2 separate regions of the Homo sapiens genome follow, and region 1 is linked to region 2. Evidence: promoter capture Hi-C in human tissues and cell types (Jung and others, 2019). All regions are on one chromosome and are shown on one strand. The core of a region is centred on a gene start or on the middle of the fragment in contact, and the rest is flanking DNA. Distances in the headings are between cores, read along the strand shown.

The links. The method cuts DNA at HindIII sites, captures the fragments that hold promoters and counts their contacts. A contact is called where the count stands out against the background at its distance.
Region 1: a contact is called between a fragment that was not itself captured here and the fragment with the promoter of CSMD2 in region 2, in 1 of the 25 tissues and cell types used here (dorsolateral prefrontal cortex).

The regions. Positions count from the first base shown.
Region 1 is chr1:33,621,084-33,627,734 of GRCh38, reverse strand. CSMD2 (CUB and Sushi multiple domains 2) reads left to right here. Exons shown (of 71, transcript NM_001281956.2): 33 at 1,154-1,249; 34 at 2,481-2,684; 35 at 3,092-3,216; 36 at 4,269-4,365; 37 at 5,464-5,568. Among named protein-coding and RNA genes, the nearest start is that of ZSCAN20, 150 kb to the right of the region's middle. The HindIII fragment of the contact is 6,752 bases long and covers 1-6,297 here.
Region 2 is chr1:34,163,454-34,170,028 of GRCh38, reverse strand. It overlaps CSMD2 (CUB and Sushi multiple domains 2), which reads left to right and starts at 4,799. Exons shown (of 71, transcript NM_001281956.2): 1 at 4,799-5,118. The coding sequence starts at 4,932. It also overlaps a transcript of C1orf94 not described here. RefSeq lists an enhancer at 6,289-6,348. The HindIII fragment of the contact is 8,389 bases long and covers 1-6,575 here.

The DNA of each region.
Region 1 (6,651 bases), core at 1,672-4,171, 540 kb after region 2:
CATGTTAGCTGGGGGCAATAACTGTTAGCTGGGACAATGACTCCTAGCCAGGCTCAGCCTTCTGGGTCACATACACATCTAAGCCTGCCTTGCAAAAGCTCTCTGCTCCCATATTGGTGGCATCACATGAGCTTCCTGGAAGTACAGGTGGACCTCCCAGTAGTTCCGTTGTGGGTCCCAACTCTAGCCCTCACTGTAGTGGAGATAGAGCCTGGTTCTCTGTAATCCCTGCTTCGTCCTGAGAATGGGGTCTGGGGTCAGCAGCGCTTCTCAGGGGTCCCTGAGGCTGCAGGGGGGCAGCAGGCAGAGTGGCCATGCTGCTGCCTCCACCCATGTTCTCCCTGCGCTTCCCCAGAATGGCAACTACACTAATTGGCTGCAGGTCCAGTTGGTGCTGTCTCTCCCCTGGCCCATCTGTACTGCACCAAGCAGAAGATATACCTTTGTCTTCTGCTACAAAAGCTGTCAGTCTACCCTGGTTTCCTGTGCCCATGCAGGTTCCCCCCAGTTTGTGTGTTATTGGCCGGCAATAGTACATCCTGGTTTGCCTGGGACAGTCCCACCATAACTATTGATAGCACTTTCTTTGACTCTCAAAAATGTTCTAGTATGAACAATACATTACACCATCGCTCTGGTAATCATTTCACAGGATGGTGGGAGAGTGTCTGGGAAAGACCAGTTGCTCCTAGATGATCACATCATCCTCCTTCCTAGAGGCCAATGCTATTTTTAAAAACTCAGATTGATGTCAGTTTTCCAAGTAAACCACCAGTCAGCCGGCTTGGTAACAGCTGCTGTCTCCATCCCTGTCGCTCCACACATCCCTAGCAGCCTTCTCCTTTCCGGCACAGGTCATTTAATCTTTCTGGACCTCTCTTTCCTTCTTTATTAAATGAGGGTACTGAACTCTGTCATGCCAACCTCACAGTGACCACAGGTCAAGTTAAGACCGTGAATGAAAAAGCTTTCTATAAACTTTAAATTGTAAAGTGCAGTAAAAATACGTGAGATTTTATTTCAGGAAGGCCTGGAATGTGGAAGGAATTGCTGCATGGGGTACTGGCAGCCCCTCCTTCCTGGCCAGGATTTTATCTTCTGGGCCCACCTGCTGGACTCACTGTTCTCTCCTCCTTGCCCCTTATCTCGGCAGGAGAATCACTGCCCTTGGCCACCTCCAATCAAGTTCTCATTAAGTTCAGCGCCAAAGGCCTCGCACCAGCCAGAGGCTTCCACTTTGTCTACCAAGGTATGGAGGACATGGACGCCGGAGGTAGGAAGGTGATCTCGGTTCTTAAGGGACTCGTGATCGAAGGGACAGGGATCTTTGACCTCTAGTCTGAGTCCCTTTCTCAGGGTGTTTGGGGGCAGTTACTAGTTTGTAGGGCAATTCCCTGAAATCCAGTTAATTTTATGCATTCACTTACTCAGCAGACATTTCTTAGACAAGTTCTGTGTTTAATGAGGAAGGAAATCAGACAAAGGCAGCCAGTTTTTTCCCCTTCCCCACTCCACCCATTGTCTGGCATGGTCCAGATGGCACTGAAGAGACCAGCCCAGGCATCTTACCTGGACTCCCCTGGAGCTTGGTTTTGTCTGCCAGGCACAGTAAAGGTGCGGGGAAAACACAGGCTTTGAAGTGCCGTGGACATCGATTTGAATCCCACCTCCCCACCTTCGAGCTAGGCTCCAGCTACGCCAGGCCTCAGAGCCTGTTTGCTCACCTGTAAGGAGCGGGCAATCACAATGCCTCACTGATAGGATGCAAAGAGGCTTCGGGAAGTAGCTGGTACCAACCAGCCAGTTGGTGTTAGTTCCCTTCCTTATTGGCCCAGAAAGGTAGTTTGGAGCATCCTGGTTTTCACCCCCAGGTCCCAACCTCTGCTTGCCCAGGAGAACATCCACTTTTGTAGGGCCCAGGTTCTAAGCATGGTCCTGTTCATTCGACTCTGCCCAGGATGAGCTGTGTTTCTCTTTGCAGGAGTGATCCTATCACAGGGGAGGCCATCCCGGGCCCATCAGCCATTCTGGGCGGCAGGAGGGAGGGGAGACTGGGGGTCATGGAGGGCAGGGCCCCAGGCAGGATCTTAAGGCACATGGGGAAAACAGGACAGAGGCAGGGCAAAGGCCCTGAAGGTAGAGGAGGAAGGCCCATTCTCCTTGCTAGGGAACGTGGGACCCTGATGAGTGAGGGGCGTCGTTGGGAAAGCAAAGAACAAAACTGGGCCTAAGGTCTGTGGGAGGTCCACGGCTCTACCTCCCGTGCTTTCCAGGAGCTGTGCTGTAGCGCTGTGTGTCCAACTATAATTCGGTATAACAGGCATCCTCCTAGTTAGCCCTCGAGCCCTTCCCTACGGGAGAGCATCCAGAGCCTCCCAGGGTTTCATCCAGACGGTCTTTGTTCCAGACCCGTTGTATGTCCGTCCCTGGGCCAGTTTCTGAGGGGTGAGGCCTCCCCTCAGTGCCCTTGTCCCCCACAGCGGTTCCTCGAACCAGCGCCACGCAGTGCAGCTCTGTGCCGGAACCCCGCTATGGCAAGAGGCTGGGCAGTGACTTCTCGGTGGGGGCCATCGTCCGCTTCGAATGCAACTCCGGCTATGCCCTGCAGGGGTCGCCAGAGATCGAGTGCCTCCCTGTGCCTGGGGCCTTGGCCCAATGGAATGTCTCAGCGCCCACGTGTGTGGGTGAGTAACCAGGACCCGGGCGTTGAGGGTGCGGGGGGCGGCACGTAGTCCTTTCTCTGTAGGGGAGGCAGTCAGCCCCAGTGATGCCCCACGACACACAGCAGCCGCTTCCCACCGCATGGCTGAGGTGGGGTGTCCCAGTCAACCCCAGTCCCCGGCGCTGTGGGCTGTGTGAAGACAGCCGGTGTACTGGGGACGGGGCACACGTGGAGAGAGGAGCTGGGCCCAGGGCCCCGAACAGAGTTGCATGGGGAGAGGCCGTGGAGAAGGCAGGACTGGGGACATTAGGGAGACACCCCCATGGGGAGGAGGACAAACAGAGGCTGGGGGCCATGAGGGAGGAGTCAGCTTGGGAAGGCTCCCACGGGAGGCCACAAAGCCTCTGACCCGATGGCCTCTCCTCCCAGTGCCGTGTGGAGGCAACCTCACAGAGCGCAGGGGCACCATCCTGTCCCCTGGCTTCCCAGAGCCGTACCTCAACAGCCTCAACTGTGTGTGGAAGATCGTGGTCCCCGAAGGCGCTGGCATCCAGGTAGGGGCAAGGGGGCGCCTCGGTCGGGCAGGTGGCCGTCTGCTCCCAGGTAACAGCTCACAGGTGACAACCACAGGTGCTGGCTGGTGCCAAGGCCTGAGTCAGGGTGAGCCAGGAAGAGACATATCAGCCCTGTACCTGCCCCTGCGGCTAAGGAGGCTCAGTCCAAGTGTGGAGATGTGGCTCCCATGCAGAAAACACAGCAGGTTCCAGGCCCCAAGAGCTTCAGGGACATGCGGTGGGAGTCGGGTAACCCAGGAAGGAGGAGAGGTGGGCATTGATTGGCCATGGCCAGGAGGGGAGGCTAAAAGAAGAAATGGGCCTGGAGCTGGAATCTGAAGTGTGGGAAGGATTCATAGAAGTTGTTCCTCAAATGGCTAAAGATTTTCTTAAGATTGTGAGGGTTAGAAGGGGAGGCAGTGCTAATGAGAAGAAAGAGCAAAGCACCCAGCACAGCTGAAGCACAGAGAACCCCCAGGCACACACCTAGGGAACCACGCACAGCATGAGCTGTAGAAGCTGAACTGGGGGCATAACTGGTACCCAGGGGTAAGAGCCAGGCAGAGGGAGGCCCCAGCATTGGCGTCAAGGCAGGGAAGAGGGTCAGGAGCCTGCAAGGCCAACAGAGAGGCAGCAAACTGGGAGTCCAGCAGACAGATCTGGGCAGGAGTGGGTTACGGGCTCATTGCTGCAGGACGTCTGATGAAATCAAGGCAGGAAAGTGGGGAAACCCAAGGAACATTCCAGAGATGAGGAGACAGTCAGTGAGACTGTCTTTCCACTTCCTGGAACTTCTTTTCCCCATTCTCTGCCTTGCAAAATATCCACTGTCTTCTAATCATTTTTTTCCACATCTGTCTTCCCCACTGGACAACGAGCTCCTTGGAGTCGGTTCTGCATCTTACTTTTATTGAAAGGGACTAGCACAGTGTTAGGCCCAGAGTAGATTCTCAACAAATTGAATTAACTACGGGAAGGGCAGAAAGGGAAAGCAGAGAAGGAGGGAGGGACGCAGGCTGCCTAACCAACAATTCACTCTTCTCCCTTCCCAGATCCAAGTTGTCAGTTTTGTGACAGAGCAGAACTGGGACTCGCTGGAAGTATTTGATGGTGCAGATAACACTGTAACCATGCTGGGGAGTTTCTCAGGTAAGCTGGGTTTCCAGGGGCTTCAATTTGGAGGGTAGTACTAGAGCTCATCATCATGAACATTGTTATTATCATTATTATTATTGAGATATCACTTATATTCCATGAAATTCACCATTTTCAAGTGGACACATCAGTGGTTTTCAGGAGATTCGAAAGGTCCTGCAACCATCACTACTATCTAATCCCAGAACATTTTGACCACCCCAAAATAAACCAGGTACCCATTTGCACTCCCCTCCCCAGCCCACACCTAGCCTCTAGTAACCAGTAATCTACTTTCTATCTCTCTGGATTTGCCTATTCCAGGCATTTCATATAAATGGAAGCCTTCTGTGTTTGGCTTCTTTCACTTAACGTGATGTTTTCAAAGTTCCCCCAGTCACAGTATGGTTCAGCACTTCATTGTAAGGACAGAGCATATTTTGTGTGTCCATTCATCAGTCAATGGCTTGTTTCCACTTTTGTGCTGTTATGAATAATGCTCATGCACAAGTCTTGGTGTGAACACACATTGTCACTTCTCTTGAGTATATACCTAGGAGTGGAATTGCTGGGTCATGTGGGAACTCTATGTTTAACTTTTGGAGGAACTTCCTGTTTTCCAAAGTGGCAACACCATTTTGCCATTCTAGTAATGGACTTCTGACTGAGTGTGGTGTATAGGTGTGCCCAGTGGCCAGGGCAATTATCTGAATCTTTTAGGCCCAGAACTCTAGGTGGCCAAGAGATAAAGAGGAGTCACATGCTTCAGATAAACTGTCCACACTGCAGGACTGCCCAGAGAATAATACAGGTCAGAGTTATCCTGAAGATGGCTATGAGGAGACCCAACTCATCCCTCACCCTCCTGCGGGCACATGGCTCTGCCACTGCTCATCTTACAGGAAGCAGATTGGAGTTTCCCCTCCCTCAGCCAGTAGAGACCTAGCCCTCTGAGGAGTGCTAATTTGTCATTTAGTGAGTTTCATAACTGGGGACATCTGGGGGCCTTGGGAGCAGAATGTCAGCAGGTAGCAAAATCCAGAGGAATGGGGAGGAATGCAAGGGCCTGGAGGAGCCAAACTTAAATGGTTTTCCCTGGTGTCCTTGCCCTAGGAACAACCGTGCCTGCCCTTCTGAACAGCACCTCCAACCAGCTCTACCTTCATTTCTACTCAGATATCAGCGTATCTGCAGCTGGCTTCCACTTGGAGTACAAAAGTGAGAATCCAGGGTCTTGGCTGGTACAGGGTTCAGGGTGGGACCTAAAAGTTGCTGAGCCCCTTCTGAGCAAGGATTAAACTGGAGCTGCATATTGTCCATCCCACTTAAGCCTTCCCACAAACCTAGGTGAAGATGCTAAAGCCCAGAGAAGGTCTGAAACCTCCTCAAGGCTGTGTTCTCGTCCAAGTGTCTGTTACTCGAAAACCTGTATGCCTGTTCAGTATCCACACCAGGAATGGGAAGGGGACTTGCATTGGCCAAGGTCCCAGTATATAATTGGGATGTAAGAAAATTGTGCTTTCCTCCCCCAGGTCTAAAACCTGGCCTTTCTAACCCCTAGTTCTATGATGCGATTATTTTTGAAGTTCCTCCTTTCATTGGCTACCTCACTCATCTTCTACCAGATTTCTCACTGCAGGCTCAAACCCTTATATCCTGGCTTCTGGCATCCCTAAGTGGTCACTACCAAATACTCTTCACAGAGAAAGATTTGTGGATGTGCCTTCTGGGGAACAAAGAAAGAGGTTTCTAGGGAAACTGCTTGCATACTGGGACTGCCTGCCCTACCCCCTTTCTCCACTGGGTACAGGAAAGAATAGGTAGGCAGCAGCATTTTTTACACTTTTATTCGGCAAATATTTATTGAGCATTTACAACATGCCAGGCACTGTGCTGGGTTTTGCCACGATTGGGAAAGATTAAGATGGGTCAGTCAAAGTCCACTAAAGAGAGGTAGACACATAGACAGAGAGGTGCATGACAGCATTACAGGTGCTCTCATGGATGGCTCTAGATGGTAGAGAAATGGTTCAAGGGAGAGAATGGTTGTGGGCGGGTGGAGATGCAAATGTTGTGAAGAAACATTGAGCACCTGCAATGTGCCCCGCCCTGTGTTAGGTCCCCGCAGTACAAAGGTCAATAAGACAAGGCCCCTGCCTTCAAAAGCACAAAATCTAGAAGGAGAGATGGACATGGGCACAGTCATTTTAGTGAAACCTAAGAAAGTGCAGAGGAAAGGAGAGATGCTAAGAAAGTACAAAGGAAAGGAGCTAAAGCTAGCCATGTAAGGCCTTGCAGAAG
Region 2 (6,575 bases), core at 3,550-6,049:
TGAAGAATTTTCACCAAGAATGTCAGAATTTGGTGACCACAGCATGTGGTAGCACTAGAGGAATGGCCTAGGCTGTGGGCCCCTTCTCACTTCTCCCTCCTGGTTTCAGAAGCCCACAGCCTCACCTTGGTGTGGTCTGGGCTTTTTCCTCATGAAGCCCCTCTGTCGCCACTCCTTGGGCAGCAGATCACTGCCACCTCTATGGTGATAGCCTCGCCCTTGGGAGATACTCGCTTTGGCCTGATCATGCTCATGATTTTAAAATTGTGCCCCATTTGGGATCCTAAGCTTTTCCTCTGAGCCCATCTTTGTCCTGTAGCCCTTCTCTGCAGCCCTGCCTGCCCCTTGGCCTCTATTTCTGCCCTCGCATTGCTAGAATCTCCCATTTGCTCACTCTCTCTCTCTCTCTCTCTCTCTCTCTCTCTCTCTCTCAGCTTCAGAAGGCTTTTTGATCTTTTCCTGGGTCAGAATGAAAATTTCAGGGCATCAAGTCTACAGCTCCTCCTTGAATGAGGCAGAGTTCTCCAGAGCATCAGGCCTTGTATTCTTTCTAAATCAAACTCTGATTTTATCTGGATATTAGGCTTATCTTGGCTAGTCACTAGACTGCATTGGGCTTTTTTGCAATGTGATATTGTAAAGACACCTCAACCCACGACTGCCTGTTGCTCACAGGGAGAATGAGAGGGGCAGGCAGGGAGCCAGCACTTGGGGCTGGGCTGAGACCCACACTCTCCTAGGCTAGATGCGGGTAGGCTGTTATGTCTTTGACTCCTGCCTCTCCATTGCCCTGCAGATGTTTCCAGGGTCCCCATCTCTGCCTTTGCCCCCATGTTTCCTGGCTCAGACTATTGCAGTAGTCTTCTAAGTGGTACCCTTTCCTTTCTTACCCTTTCCTCACAGAGAAGTTAGAGTATATGTCAGGCCACATCACTTGGCGTCTCTTTCCCAGAAATGAAAACCTACCTTTCATATTCAGAGCTGTCTACTTTTCACTAAAGGAGCCATGCTATACACAGAAAATAAATGTAAACAGATATCTCTTTACATATATTTTCTGACTGTCAAGCATCTCTCTCCTCCCTCCATCTGAAAAGTCATCTCCTCCTGTTATAGAATGAATTGTGTGCCCCCCCACCCAAATTCATAGGTTGAAGTCCGAACCCCTAGTACTTCAGGATGTGACCTTATTTGGAGGTAGAGTCTTTAAAAAGTCAGTTAAGTCAAAATGAGGTCATTGGGTTGGGCCTTAATCCAGTATGACTGGTGTCCTGATTAGAAGTTTGGACACAGATATGTACCATGGGAACACATGTGAGGACACAGGGAGAAGAAGGCAGCCATCTACAAGCCAGAGAGAGAAGCCTCAGAGGGAACCAACTGTGTCGACCTCTTGATCTTGGACTTCCAGCCTCCAGAATTGTGAGGCAATACATTTCTGTTTTTTAAGCCACAGGGTCTATGGTACTTTGTTGTGGCAGCAGTCCTAGCAAATTAATACACCTTCTATTTCTCACTGGCTAAGAATAAAATGCAAACTCCTCGCCATCCCCTAATAGACCCTATGTGATCTGCCCCACTCCCTATCTCCCATTGCTTACCTGGATCCAGCCCCATCCTCCTCCTCCTGGCCCCCTTTCCTTTTTACAGCCTTGCCTGTGCTCACTATACCAAAAGCTCTTTCCCCAACTTTGCATGGCTGCCTTGCTTAATTCTATTATTATATTAATTAATTAATTAATTAATTCATAGACAGATAGTCTGGCTCTGTCACCCAGGCTGGAGTGCAGTGGTGTGATCATGGCTCACTGCAGCCTTGAACAGCTGGGCTCAAATGATCCTCTGGCTTTAGCCTCCTGAGCATCTTGCTTAATTTTAGATCCCATCTTCCACCGTTGCCATCTCAGAGAGGCCTTCTCAGACCATCTCCTTAAAGCACATCCCCATATTGTTTCTCCTAGCACCATAAACTTTCCTTTTGTAGCATCCTTAATTAGTAACTTTATGTGTATTTGTATACATATTTTCTGCCTTCATCAAGTCAGGGACTGTGCACTAGGTGTATATTCATTGTCTAGCACAGCACCCAGGCACATAATGATGCTCAATAAATATTTGTTGAGTAAATGAATCTTCATCTTTTCAAGGTCTTTATCCATGTCTCAGGTTCCAGACCAAATCCTACTTTCCTTCTTAAATTAGCCTTCTGATCCCCCAAGTCCAGGAAAAGCTCACTGTCTTGACATGCCTCTCGGTAGCATGCCGGTTCTTCAGTCATGGTGATTATCGCTGTCTGACGGTATCAGTTACGTGTGGGTTTCCACCTCTGGCCTGCATCCTCCCAAAGCAGGACCACACACTGTGCATCTCTGCAGGGCCCAGAGCACAGCCTCGCTCAGGGCCCCCGAGCACAGGAGGCGCTCAGTGAAAGCACGTGGACCCAAATAGATCAGAGAGCAGGAATGGCGGAGGATGTGAGTAACTGGGCCTTTTGCAGGGATAAAATAGGTGCCCTGCCCTCCACAGCCCCCAGGGAGAAGGATGACAAACGCTCCTTTTGCCCGGGAAAGTTCTGGGGGTAAATCTCATCTGCCCGTTGCAGCCACAGAGCAAAGTTCTGGAGCTGAGAAGAGGGTAAGAGAAAGCCCATTGGCCTGCAGCCCCAGAATTACAGAGCAGCCCAGACTCTCTTCTGCCCAGCTGTGGGCTGCACAGGAGGCCTGGGCATCTCTGCCAGTTCCTTTCTCTGGAGGAGAACCCCGCCTCCAAGAGAGGGGTAAAGTCGGAGCTTAGAAGCCAGGAGCCCACCCCCAGGCAAGCCCAGCTAACAGCCCCCAAGGCCACCACCACCACTCACTGCTGGCGTAGTCAGTCCCTTCCTCCTCTCCAGGGCTGGTGGGAAGGCTGAGCCCTCTCTTTCGGGGGCTGAGTCTGGACAATGGGAAGGGAGAAGCCCCCTCCTCACTGCCCCGGGAACATAAAGCAGGCCTTTCACTGAGGAGTTCTGGCTGCTTCGGTTGGTTCTTGGCACCCAGCAAGGCGGCGTCGGGAGGGGCGGGCATACAAGCGTGTTGGGGGTGGGGACCAGGCCCGCGATTCTGAGGAGATTCGCCCGCCCAGGGCCACCGGGCTGGCTCCCCAGCTGTGGGATGAGCTCATGCAGGGAAACCGGAACAACTTGGGGTGGGGGGAGGGAGGAAGAGTGGCATCTAGGAGGCTGCGAAAGCGTGGCTCTGGGGAGGAAGTTTTTCATGGGGAGTAGGGACAAGCCTCCACTCCTCCAGCCCTGCCCCCGCCCCCCAATTCATATCGTCAACTCCACAGCCCCTCTTCACACCCTTCCTTGGATGGAAATTCCTGGCCACGCTGACAGCCGGCCAACCTGGGTCGCCAGCCACCCCCAGCCTGGCTCGCCATCCCTACAGTCCCTCTCCACACCCTTCCCCGGAAATTCTCAGGCCCCACCGCCCGCCGGCCACTGCCCCCTTGGCCACACAGATGCCAACGCTCCGTTTTGGCCAAATCAGGCTGCCCTAAGCCCGGAGCACAGCTTCTCTGGGGTGTGTCGGCAAAGGGGGCGGGGGTGCCCATCGCAGGTGCCTTTCCACTGCACGCGCCAGCAGAAGCCTCCTCTCTGGACCTTGCCCCTCCCAGTTTCCTCCAGCCTCCCCCCATGAAGCGTCTCTTCCCTCTCGCCGAGAGTTTGGCGTAGACAGCGAAGGAGCCATCGTGACTGGCGGAGAAGCCTGGAGTAGACGAGACAGAGACGGCGACCGAGTCGGGTGGGGGATGGGGTGGGGACCGACACTAAGCCCTTGGGGCCTAGAGGCAGCCGCTACTGGGGAGAGGTGGGGAGCAGCTCACGTCCTTGGGAAGAACTCTCTTGGTTTGGGGCCTTGGCTGGGAGGAGGAAGGGGAGAAGAAGAAGTAGGATCCGATTATTTAAATTTGGGGATAAATTGTACTAGTAACTCTTGCACCGTCCTTCCACCAACCTCACTCCCCACCCCCAACTCGCGTGCACACAGGGACCGCCTCTGCCACCCTGAGATTTTTGTCTTAGGGTAGGAGTGGGACCGCACTGGGTCAAATGAACCGGTTCCCCCCCCTCCCCACCCCACACACAACCCCCCTCCACCGCCCTCCAATTCTTAACCCTGCCTCTGTCTACGCACACACGCCCCTCTCCTGGGATGGGGTAGGAGGCTATTGTGAATGAGGCTCATAAGCATCGCCCCCGGCCCTAGATGGCAAGTTCAAAGCCACCACCCAAGATCAGCTGGTAAGAGCCAAGACTTGGGGAACGCGTCCTTCTTTGGTTACCTTTTCCCAGACAGGATTCCAATTTCCAAACGTGGAAGAGGTGTGCGTGTATGTGCCTGTGTGTGTGAGTGCGTGTGTCTCTGTCACTGTGTGTGTGTGTGTGTGTTTGTGTGTGTGTGTGTGGAGAGGGGGGTGTATTAATGGGTGATGTTATAAATGAAAACAGGAGGACTGAACTTAAAAGAAACTGGTCAATTGCAAAACAGACACGGATAAACAACCCTTTAGATGTAATTTGTGGTTTATCTGGAGGTGGAGGTGGCGCTGAAGAGGAACCCCCGCCCCCCAATATTTTATCCTTAGCTGCGCCTCCACCCCCAGCATTTGGAGCGGCGGAGAAGCGGCTCCGGAGTGATTAATCCGGGGATAATTCACCCCCTCCCGCCCCCCGGCGCGAACCCCGCGAAGCGGGATTGGAGCGAGTCATTTCCGAGAGCGCAGCGCGCCTCTCCCCGGCCGGGCGGACACTTGGTTCATTCCAGCCGCAGAAGCTCAGGGCTCCCGCGTACCGGGATTTTTTCCGAGCAGAAAAAAGCTCCAGAGCTCTCCTGACCTCCTTTCTCCTCGGCGGCGAGCGGAGCCTCTCCCTCGGCGCTGCCGGCCGCGCCATGCCGCGCTCGCGGGGACGGGAGCTGGGGCGCTGCGGCTGCCCCGCGGGGAGGGCTCGCGGCGAAACCGGGATTTCGGCGCTTGTGCCGGGCGCCGGGAGCCGCTGGGGCCGCCCGCCGCCGCCAACGCCGCCGCCTCTGCTGCTGTTGCTGGGCTGTGGGTTGCTCAGCGTCTCGGCCGCCGCGGGTGAGTCCAGCCGCGCCGAGGAGCCAGCGGCCGCCGCGCGCCCCACCCGAGCCCCGAGCCCACCCATCCTCGACCCGGTCCCAGTCCCTCCCCCCGCCTCTATCCCTGCCTGAATCTCCCACCCTCCCAGTTGCCTACTCTCATTCTCATCCCTGCCTCCGTCTCCCACCCCACCCTCAGCCACGTCCTCACCTCCACCCTCACCCTCACTGCTGCCCCAACCCCAGCCGCAACTTGGACGGATGCGGCCGGTGTGGGGGCCTGGGAGACAGACATCCCCGCCCGGGGTTGCGGGGCACCTGGTCTGTGGCTTCAGTTTCTCCAGCCTCCCAGCCCCCACGGTGCTAGGCTTTTTCCCGATAAACTTTCCGGGAGCCCTACTCCCCCGGCTCCTGATTCTGCCAGGCACGCTGGTCCTGGGGGCTGGAGAGGAACCGTGCGCCCCCTCCCCATTTCTGCGTCTGCAAGGTCTGCCCTTCCCTGCCCCCGCCCATTTTCTCCAATTGAAACCGGTGCCCCCTCTGGAACCGACTGCAGACTGCGGCCGCCATCCCCCTCCTCAAATGCTACCCCTCCCTCGGCGCTCGGAGCTAGGAGGGGGTTCAGGTGGACGCGTGCCCACGGTGGGGGTCCCGCGCATTCCTTGCAGGAGGGTGCAGGTGGGGGCTGGAGGGTGTTGAGGGATGGGAAGGAGGGGGTGGGGGTTGTAGCCCGAGGCGGGGGAGGGAGTGCCGCCGCCAGGCTTCGCGCTGCCACATTCCCCTCGGTGCTCACTCCGCGCCAAAGTGCCCTTTCCCGCGCCCTGCTGCAGCCGAGCGCCTCGGCTGCGGCAGCGGCAGCGGCGGCGCGGGCGGCGGGACCAGCTCCCGACGACCGAGTCCGGGAAGGGGCAGATCTAGCGGGTGCGGAGAGTCCCGGAACTTCGCGGGTGTCTGGCTGCAGCTTGCAGCGCGCGGGGGAGGTACGCGAACCTTCGAGGGAACCCGGTCCCCTGTGGAGGCTACTGGCCGCGACTGGTGCCCTCCCGCTTTACCCACAGCACCCCTCCGAAGCTCAGTTCTAGCTACAAGCTAGAAAGTTCCGTGTGCCCGGGTGGAGACGGGTCCAAACCGGGATGCCTGGAACCGCATTTTCATTTAGCCCGCGAGGCTGACACCCACTGGGGGAGAAACCGAAACACCTGCTGGCCAGGCCTAGACCTAGGGCACCTTCGACCTGGAGCCGTGTTTTCTTTTTTGTTTTTGTTTTTGTTTTGTTTTGTTTTGTTTTGAAACCACCGATTGAACCTCTGAAGGCTTGGCCTGGACCACCCCAGTTCCCCTTCTTGGGAAAGTGCGCCTCTCCTCTGGCAGGTCAGTGAGTGGCGAGCTCTCTGGCCCACTCTGGCCTTCAGCGTCTTGTGAGTCTGTCCTCGCAGACCGTGTCGCCCACCGCTTAACCGCGGCATGTTGGGGTTC